2 separate regions of the Homo sapiens genome follow, and region 1 is linked to region 2. Evidence: promoter capture Hi-C in 16 types of primary human blood cells and fetal thymus (Javierre and others, 2016). All regions are on one chromosome and are shown on one strand. Each heading gives the region's core, a stretch centred on a gene start or on the middle of the fragment in contact. The rest is flanking DNA. Distances are from core to core; before and after follow the strand shown.

Evidence for each region. The method cuts DNA at HindIII sites, captures the fragments that hold promoters and counts their contacts. A CHiCAGO score of 5 or more calls a contact.
Region 1: a fragment that was not itself captured here is called in contact with the fragment with the promoter of LIAT1 in region 2 in 2 of 17 cell types (M0 macrophages and total B cells); the score reaches 8.3 in M0 macrophages.

What each region holds. Positions count from the first base shown.
Region 1 is chr17:970,288-974,678 of GRCh38, forward strand. All of the region lies in intron 1 of NXN (nucleoredoxin), which reads right to left. Among named protein-coding and RNA genes, the nearest start is that of NXN, 7.3 kb to the right of the region's middle. RefSeq lists enhancers at 2,144-2,645, 2,646-3,145. The HindIII fragment of the contact is 4,162 bases long and covers 1,010-4,391 here.
Region 2 is chr17:408,627-413,181 of GRCh38, forward strand. It overlaps LIAT1 (ligand of ATE1), which reads left to right and starts at 1,699. Exons shown (of 2, transcript NM_001013672.5): 1 at 1,699-2,020; 2 at 4,522-4,555. The coding sequence starts at 1,717. LOC105371430 (a long non-coding RNA gene) reads right to left here. Exons shown (of 3, transcript NR_136407.1): 2 at 4,503-4,555. RefSeq lists a silencer at 1,751-1,840. The HindIII fragment of the contact is 6,027 bases long and covers 1-4,026 here.

The DNA of each region.
Region 1 (4,391 bases), core at 1,841-4,340, 560 kb after region 2:
GAGGACTGATTTAGTCCTAGGATCTCGGCAGGACACCTGAAGTTCAATTTTGTCTCTGAACAAAAAGCACTACAGCAGCCTGCAGGCTTTCCGTAGGATGAAGGGGGAGTTGGGGGGCCCTTCACTGGAGGAACTAAAAAAAAGCCAAATCATTAAAAAGGCCCTTAGAAAAAAAAACACCACCATGGAAAAAGGCAGCAAGAGAGAAGAGGTTCTCGCTCTCCTGCCTTCCAAGCAACCAGCGAATGTTTCAAGCCGTTCAACTACCTCTGTCTTATCTCAGAGCGGTCCCTGCACACCTAGAGGAAGAAAGCCACCTGAAGAGGCTTGCTGCTCCTCCTCCTCCATGCGGAACGTTTGATGTGAGTATTTTTTAAGGTACAATTCCGTGAACAGAAAGGACCAAGTTGAATTTAAGGGAGTTCAGCCAAGCTCTTTCATCCAACACTGTGACCCTGATCTAATAATCGGTGCTCTTTGCTTCAATTCTCCAGCTCTAACATACTTGGAAAAGTTAAAACGGTGAATATCTACTGATTACTAGTTGCTGGAAGACGTAATATGTACGCATTTTGAGTTCTTTGGAAGAAAGATGCTAGAGAAATGCAAACAATGAAATATTAAAGCATGGCATGACAGGTCTGCAGATATGAGACTCTTTTTTTTTTTTTTTTTTGACACGGAGTTTCACTCTTATTCCCCAGGCTGGAGTACAGTGGTGCGATCTCGGCTCAATGCAACCTCCGCCTCCAGGGTTCAAGTGATTCTCCTGCCTCAGCCTCCTCAGTAGCTCGGATTACAGGCATGCACCACCACACCCGGCTAATTTTGTATTTTAAGTAGAGACAGGGTTTCTCCACATTGGTCAGGTTGGTCTAGAACTCCCAACCTCAGGTGATCCGCCCACCTCGGCTTCCCACAGTGCTGGGATTACAGGCGTGAGCCACCGCGCGTGGCCGAGTCTCTTTTAATAGACTCAGATATTTGACATTTCAAAAATGGAGAGTCAAGCTTTTTCCTATTTTTGAGCACAGAATCACACGGCAATCCAGTTGCACAAGAAGCTGCTGGGACTCACCCAGCTGTGACATCCATTTGCTCATTTAGTCCTCTTTAAAACACTCATTGAGAAACAAAAACAGACCGAGCGCGGTGGCTCACGCCTGTCATCCCAGCACTTTGGGAGGCCGAGGCAGGTGGATCATGAGGTCAGGAGTTCAAGACCATCCTGGCTAACACGGTGAAACCCCGTCTCTACTAAAAACACAAAAAATTAGCCGGGCGTGAGGGCGGGCACCTGTGGTCCCAGCTCCTCGGGAGGCTGCGGCAGGAGAATGGCGTGAACCGGGAAGGCGGAGCTGGCAGTCAGCCGAGATCGCGCCACTGCACTCCAGCCTGGGTGACAGAGCGAGACTCCATCTCAAAAAAAAAAAAGAAAGTCAGGATTCACAAAGATTCCAAATTCATAGCGATTTTCCTTGATTGTCTTGGAATACGCATAAACGGTAAATTCAATGCAACACAGAAAACTAAGCACCTTGGTGGTTCACACCATGCACCACTGGGAATTCAGATCATGAAGAAAGAAAACACATCCTGGCCGGGCGCCGCAGCTCACGCTGTGATCCCAGCACTTTGGAAGCCGAGGCGGGTGGATCACCTGAGGTCAGGAGTTCAAGACCAGCCTGGCCAACATGGTGAAACCCTGTCTCTATTAAAAATATAAAAATTGGCCAGTCACGGTGGCTCACACCCGTAAGCCCAGCACTTTGGGAGGCCAAGGCAGGCGGACCACCTAAGGTTGGGAGTTGGAGACCAGCCAGACCAACATGGTGAAACCCCATCTCTACTAAAAATACAAAATTAGCCGGGCGTGGTGGCACATGCGCCTATAATCCCAGCTACTCGGGAGGCTGAAGCAGAAGAATTGCTTGAACCCAGAAGGCAGAGGTCACGGTGAGCTGAGATGGTGTCATTGCACTCCAGCCTGGGCAACAAGAACAAAACTCCATCTCAAAAAAAATTTAAAAAATACAAAACTTAGCCAGGCGTGGTGGCTGGCGCCTGTAATCCCAGCTACTCGGGAGGCTGAGGCAGGAGAATCGCTTGAACCCAGGAGGCGGAGGTTGCAGTGAGCCGAGATCGCGCCACTGCTCTCCAGCCTGGCAGAGCGAGACTCCATCTGAAAAAAAAGAAAAAGAAAAAAAGGAAAGAAAACACATCCTATGCCAAGCCTGTGCTCTCCTGGCCAAAATGAAATCATGCAGGAAGGATCCCACCTAGTTCACAACGGGACGAGCTGGAGCCCTGGAACCCTGATCACTGTCAGGAAAAAGGAAGATCCCCAAGGGGTTTGTTCAACCCCGACCCCAGCTGTGCACAAAGCCTGTTTTCTCAAATGTGTGTGCACATTACAACACCTTCCCAACAAAAGGTAGGAATATTTTAAAACGTAGAATCAGGGCCGGGTGCGGTGGCTCACGCCTGTAATCCCAGCACTTTGGGAGGCTGACGCGGGTGGATCACGAGGTCAGGAGATCGAGACCATCATGGCTAACACGGTGAAACCCCGTCTCTACTAATAATACAAAAAATTAGCCAGGGGTGGTGACGGGCCCCTGTAGTCCCAGCTACTCGGGAGGCTGAGGCAGGAGAATGGCAGGAACCCGGGAGGCGGAGATTGCGGTGAGCCCAGATCGCTCCACTGCACTCCAGCCTGGGCGACAGAGCGAGACTGCGTCTCAAAAAAAAAAAAAAAAAGGTAGAATCAAATCAGTGACCCTAACTTCCAGGGCTTGCCTCTGTGCTCTAGCTCACATTCCAACCCGTGTCAGAAGACAAATCGATCAGCAAGAGCTGTGGACGGCTACTCAGAGGCAGGCCTGAGCTGCTAACTGGGAGATGAGTACCAAACCAGCAATGCCTACATGTCTGAGCAAACCCATCCCGCAGCATTCCAGAGCTGGGACGGGAGGCAGGTCCACGCTAGAGGTGGCGTTTCTACAGCTCCAGAGATGAGCACCCTCCATTTCCCACGCGAAACAGCAGTCTTTCAACCTCTACACCGCCCAGAGTTAAGCAAACAGGGTCAGCGGAAGACACACCTAATAGCTTTGGGAAACCACAAAATGATTGCTTTGTGCGTAATTTCTCTCAAGAAGAGTGCCTGATCATCTTTAAGTTACAAGGGTGACTGAAAGGGTAACTTAATAGTAACTTAAATCTTTCCCAGGCTTCGTCGATCAGCAGCAGTCTGGAGCGTCATTGGCAGATAGAAATACAGAGCTCAGTAAGTATCAGTAATATCCCGGGACTTTAAGGCACTGTATTTGTTGTTTCATTCTTCTAGGTCTTTCTTCGCAGTTATAATCTCTTATGGGGCAATTTTTTTTATTTAATTTTTTTTTTCCAAGACGGAGTCTTGCTCTGTCACCCAGGCTGGAGTGCCGTGGCCCGATCTCAGCTCACTGCCAACTCCACCTCTCGGGTTCAAGCGATTCTCCTGCCTCAGCCTCCCGAGTAGCTGGGAGTACAGGTGTGTACCACCACACCTGGTTAATTTTGTATTTTTAGTAGAGATGGGGTTTCACCATGTTGGCCAGGCTGGTCTTGAACTCCTGACCTCAAGTGACCCACCCACCTCGGCCTCCCAAAGTGCTGGGATGACAGGCGTGAGCCACAGTGCCCGGCCATTGTAGGGCAATTTTTTTGACACCTTCATCAAATCCCCTTGTATGCTTGTAAAAGTCATTGGTTTGAAAAGTTTAAAAATATACCTCATGCCGGGCGCGGTGGCTCATGCCTGTAATCCCAGCACTTTGGGAGGCTGAGCTGGGCGGATCACGAGGTCGGGAGATCGAGACCATCCTGGCTAACACAGTGAAACCCCGTCTCTACTAAAAATACAAAAAAAATTAGCCAGGCGTGGTGGTGGGCGCCTGTAGTCCCAGCTACTCAGGAGGCTGAGGCAGGAGCATGGCGTGAACCCGGGAGGCGGAGCTTGCAGTGAGCCGAGATCGCACCACTGCACTCCAGCCTGGGTGACAGAGCGAGACTCCATCTCAAAAAAGTATATAGATATATATATATAGATATATGGATATACCTCATAACCGTTTTACAGTTCAGTAATGTGATAGATTCCCAAGGCTCAAGCTATGAAATGAATGACTAAACTTAATGATCATTTATCTAAACACAATAATAGCATTTATTGAGCACTCACCACATGCCAGGCACGTGTATATTATCTCGCGTAGCCTTTACACAATAAGGCAGGTGCTGTTATCACAAATGGAAAAGGAACGTGTGGTACAGAGATGTACAGCGCCTTGCACAAGGACACACAGCTAATAAACGGCAGAGCGGGGGCGTGAACTCAAGCAGAAGGA
Region 2 (4,555 bases), core at 449-2,948:
TCTGTGGAGGGTAAACCTAGAAAGAAAAGCAGGTGATGCATCATACCAGGCCTTGTAAGCCACACTTTGTTATTTTTTTTTTTAAGACACAGAGGCCGGGCGTGGTGGCTCAAGCCTGTAGTCCCAGCACTTTGGGAGGCCGAGGTAGGCGGATCACAAGGTCAGGTGTTCGAGACCAGCCTGGCCAATATGGTGACACCCCGTCTCTACTAAAAATACAAAAAATAAAAAATAAAAAATCAGCCAGGCGTGGTGGCACGCACCTGTAGTCCTAGCTACTAGGGAGGCTGAGGCAGAAGAATCACTTGAACCTGAGAGGCAGAGGTTGCAGTGAGTCACGTTCACGCCACTGCATTCCAGCCTGGGCAACAGAGGAAGGCTCTGTCTCCCAAAAAAAAAAAAAGAGAGAGAAAGTCTTGCTTTGTTACCCAGGCTGGACAGCAGTGGTGCGATCTCGGCTCACTGCAGGCTCAAGTTCCTCCACAAGTGCCCCTCAGCGCAGCTGGTTAATTTTTTGTAGAGATGGGGTCTCACTACGTTGCCCAGAATGGGCTCAAGCGATCCACCCACCTTGACCTCCCAAAGTGTTGGGACTACGGGTGTCAGCCCTGCACAGAGCCCCACAAGAGTTTAGATCTTGATGTAAATTGTGATGAGGAAGCAATGGAGGACTTTTTGGCTTTTTATGTTTTGTTTTTCATCACTGGAGACTTTTAGCAAGAGAGTGAACGGTTTGGTTGTTTTTAAAAGTTTGTTCTAGCAGCTGTGCGGAAAAAGAGTTCGTGGGGAAGGTTTGAAAGCAGAGACCATTCAGGAGAGGACCCAGAAGTCCCAGTGCCAGACACGGCAGTCGGCCCCAGCCTGGGTAAGGGACAAGGGAGAGGGTAGGGGACACGGAAGCCCACCAGGTTTCCAGCCAGTCCAGCGGTTTTGTTCACTAAAGTGGAAAACCATGAAGAAGTAAGTTTGTTTTGGACACATTGGCTTTGAGAGTCCAGGGTAGATGTACGAGGCTGAAACTCAGGCAATAAAAATTGAGGGGAGAATACACAGCATTTAAAAAGGTACAGGAGGCCGAGCACGGAGGCTCATGCCTGTGATCCCAGCGATCTAGGAGGCCGAGGCGGGAAGATCGATGGAGCCCAGGAGTTCGAGACCAGCCTGAAACCAAAAATCAAAACTCTTAGCCAGGCGTGGGGATGGGAGGCCAAGGCAGGAGGATCGAGGCACGGGACTGGACGAGATGAGTGTCAGCCCAGGGATTTAAAATCTCTCTGCCCACCCTCCCCTTCCTGCGGTCAACTGTCCAGATTCCAACAGACAAAAGCAAGCATGGGCGAACCACCGTGCGCCGCGGTCCCCGACAGAAGCACGCATGCGCACACCTCTGTGTGCGGAGGTTTCCGACAGACGCACGCATGCGCACACTTCTATGCGCGGAGGTCTCCGCAGACAGAAGCACGCATGCGCACATCGCTGTGCCGGTATCGCCAACAGATGGAAGCACGCATGCGCGCACCGCTGCGTACCTAGCACTCCGACAGATGTACGCATGCGCACAACGCTCTGTTCTCGAGATCCCCGACAGAAGCACACATGCGCACACCGCTGTGTGCCAAGGTCGCCAAAAGACGGAAGCACGCATGCGCACACCGCGGTCCGTGGGGCACCGGGCGGAAGCGTCCTGACTGCGCAGGCGCAGCAGGGGTGGTCGCCATGGAGACGCGTGGCCCTGGCCTGGCGGTCCGCGCTGAGAGTCGCCGATTAGTCGGCATCGGGCCTCGGGCGCCCCCGGGGCGGGTTGGGTTGCAGCCCAGCGGGCGGCTGGACCGCCGCGGTGGGGCGGGGACAATGGGGTACAAGGACAACGACGGCGAGGAGGAGGAGCGGGAGGGCGGCGCCGCGGGCCCGCGGGGGTCTAGACTGCCCCCCATCACAGGCGGCGCCTCCGAGCTGGCCAAACGGAAGGTGAAGAAGAAAAAAAGGAAGAAGAAGACCAAGGGGTCTGGCAAGGGGGACGGTAAGAGGAGCAGCTAGCCCGGCTGCGTCAGCTCCGGTTCCCTGGAGACTCTTTGGGGACCCACCCCCCATTTACCCTTCAGACCGGAAACAGAAGCTCAGTGGTCCCGGACCGAGGTCCTCCTGCTCCCCACACATGCCCGTCAGCAGCACGTTGATGCCCCAGCCCCACCCGTGGAGACCATCCACCAACTCTGCGGTCCCTTAGCCCCACACAGAGACCCCTACAGATATCCACCATTCCTAAGAGCCTTCCAGCCCCACACAAAGACACCCTCTCAACTTCCTAATCCCTCAGCCAAAACTGGCAGTCTTAAACGTCTGCGCCTTCCCCACAGAGGCCCTCCTCACAAGACACTTTCCCCACCCCAAACACATTGATGCCACATGAAAGGCCCTCACTCTCATGCACAGAGAAGGGCAGACTCCTGCCTCCCCTCCTCCCACCCTCTTGCGTTAAGGCTGCCTGCCTGTGGATGCGCGGTAGACACCCACACCCACAGACGTGTGTATTAAAGGTCCTCGCTGCATGGGCTCCCCCTCGCACCCACCAAGGGGCAGCCTTGGACTGCACAAACCCCATGACACCAGTCACTGTGACATCCTCCTATAATCCCTGACACCCTCAACCACTCCCCGCTTCATATCAGTGTAACACCCACAGTGAAACTAAAGGGCGGGGGACACCCTCAACCACTCCCCCCACCTTCTATCAATGTAACACCAACAGTGAAACTAAAGGGCGGGACGCAGTGGCTCACACCTGTAATCCGAGCACTTTGGGAGGCCGAGGTGGGAGGATCACTTGAACCCAGGACTTCCAGGCTGCAGTGAGCTATGATCGCACCATTGCACTCCAGCCTGGGCAACAAGCAAGACCCTGTCTCTCAAAAAAACAAACAAGAAAACTAAAGCACAGATCCCCCTCATGCACACACATTCCTAGTCTACACACACAGACTGTTAATACGTTATCCATTCGCGTGTGTAGTCATATGCAGGCAGGAATTGCAGTCTCTCTCAGGGACACCTTCACAAACACACATACCCTACCTGCCATAAACCCCAGTCCCTACATCTCACCAAGCTCTTCTTGTAGAACCCCTACATTTCTTGACAAGGGGACTGAGCACCCACTTTGAGGAGAGAGAGCACAGCAGTGACAGAGAATGCAGGTGCCCGTGAGTGCTGTGAGGCCACTGTCGCCCGTGTGGTCCACCTCAGTGGCTTTGGCTGTCTGGGAGAGGGCTCTAAGCTCCAGTTCTGGGGCCTGGCCCTCTGTGGCAGAGCTGGCACCAAGGCAAGCAGGAGGCAGAGTGGCAGCCTCGCCCATATGGACCGTGCAGTGTGGGAAGGGAGCAATGGGAAGATGATAAGTACTTCTCAGGCGTAATACAAAGGCAAGAAAATTCTGCAGTTCAGGTCAAGAAGCCCTGTGTGGCTGGGCACATGGCTCACGCCTGTAATCCCAGCACTTTGGGAATTCAAGACCAGCCTGGCCAACATGGTGAAACCCCGTCTCTACTGAAAATACAAAAATTAGCTGGGCATGGTGGCAGGCACCTAGAATTGCTTGAACCTGAGAGGCGGAGGTTGCAGTGAGCCAAGATTGTGCCACTGTGCTCCAGCCTGGGTGGCAGAGTGAGACTCAGTCTCAAAAAAAAAAAAAGCCCTGTGTGTATCTGCAAAAAGAAATTTGGCAGTTCATTGTCCTTTTGGCGTAGCTTTTCACTGTAGAAATTACAGTGACATGTGCCTCATACCATCAGCAGGGGGCACCAGATAGTTTCCAGGGCGTAGCAAGGGAGGGAAATGTCAAAAGATGATTTCTTTCTCTCTCCCCTAAAATAAAAGGACGAGCTGATGAAAGAACCACAATTTGTAGCATTTTATGTGCATGTTAAATAATTCTGAAGTGCTATTGATGTTAAAAAAAAAAATCAGTACAAGCCATACAGCAGAAGTATTTCTGGCTTGGCATAATACTGCTTTCAGTCAAATTTAGGAAGCTTTTCTGTTGTTTTCCGTTCCTTCCATCATAAAGTGTCTAGACTAGGGTAGAGTCACAGACTCCCAGAACTGGGAATGGCCGTGGTGAGCACATGGCGAGGATGGATGAGGGCAGCACGGCCCAGTGGAAAGAATGGGGCATTGGGGGCCCAGCCTGCACTCAGGTCCCAGCTCTGCCACTCGCTCATGACATTGGCAAGTTCCTGAACCTTTTGGAGCTTCGGTTTCCTCACCCGAAGAATAGGGCCGATCGCCTTTACCCAGACGGCCTGGCTCAGACTGTGTGCTCAATGAATGGTTCCTCCTGCCCTGAAATGATTTCAGCAAAATCACACAGGCAGGTGGGCACGAGGCTGGTGGGCTTGGCAGCCTGAGCCCTGGGTACGGAGGGGCCCCCATCCTCCTCTTCCATCTTGGGTGATTTTGGCACCATCCCCAGCAGGCCAAGGTCAGACATTGCCACAAACACTAACCTGCTCATCTACTCAGCAGATAAACATCAGAGTCAGAGCCTGAAGAGCCAGCC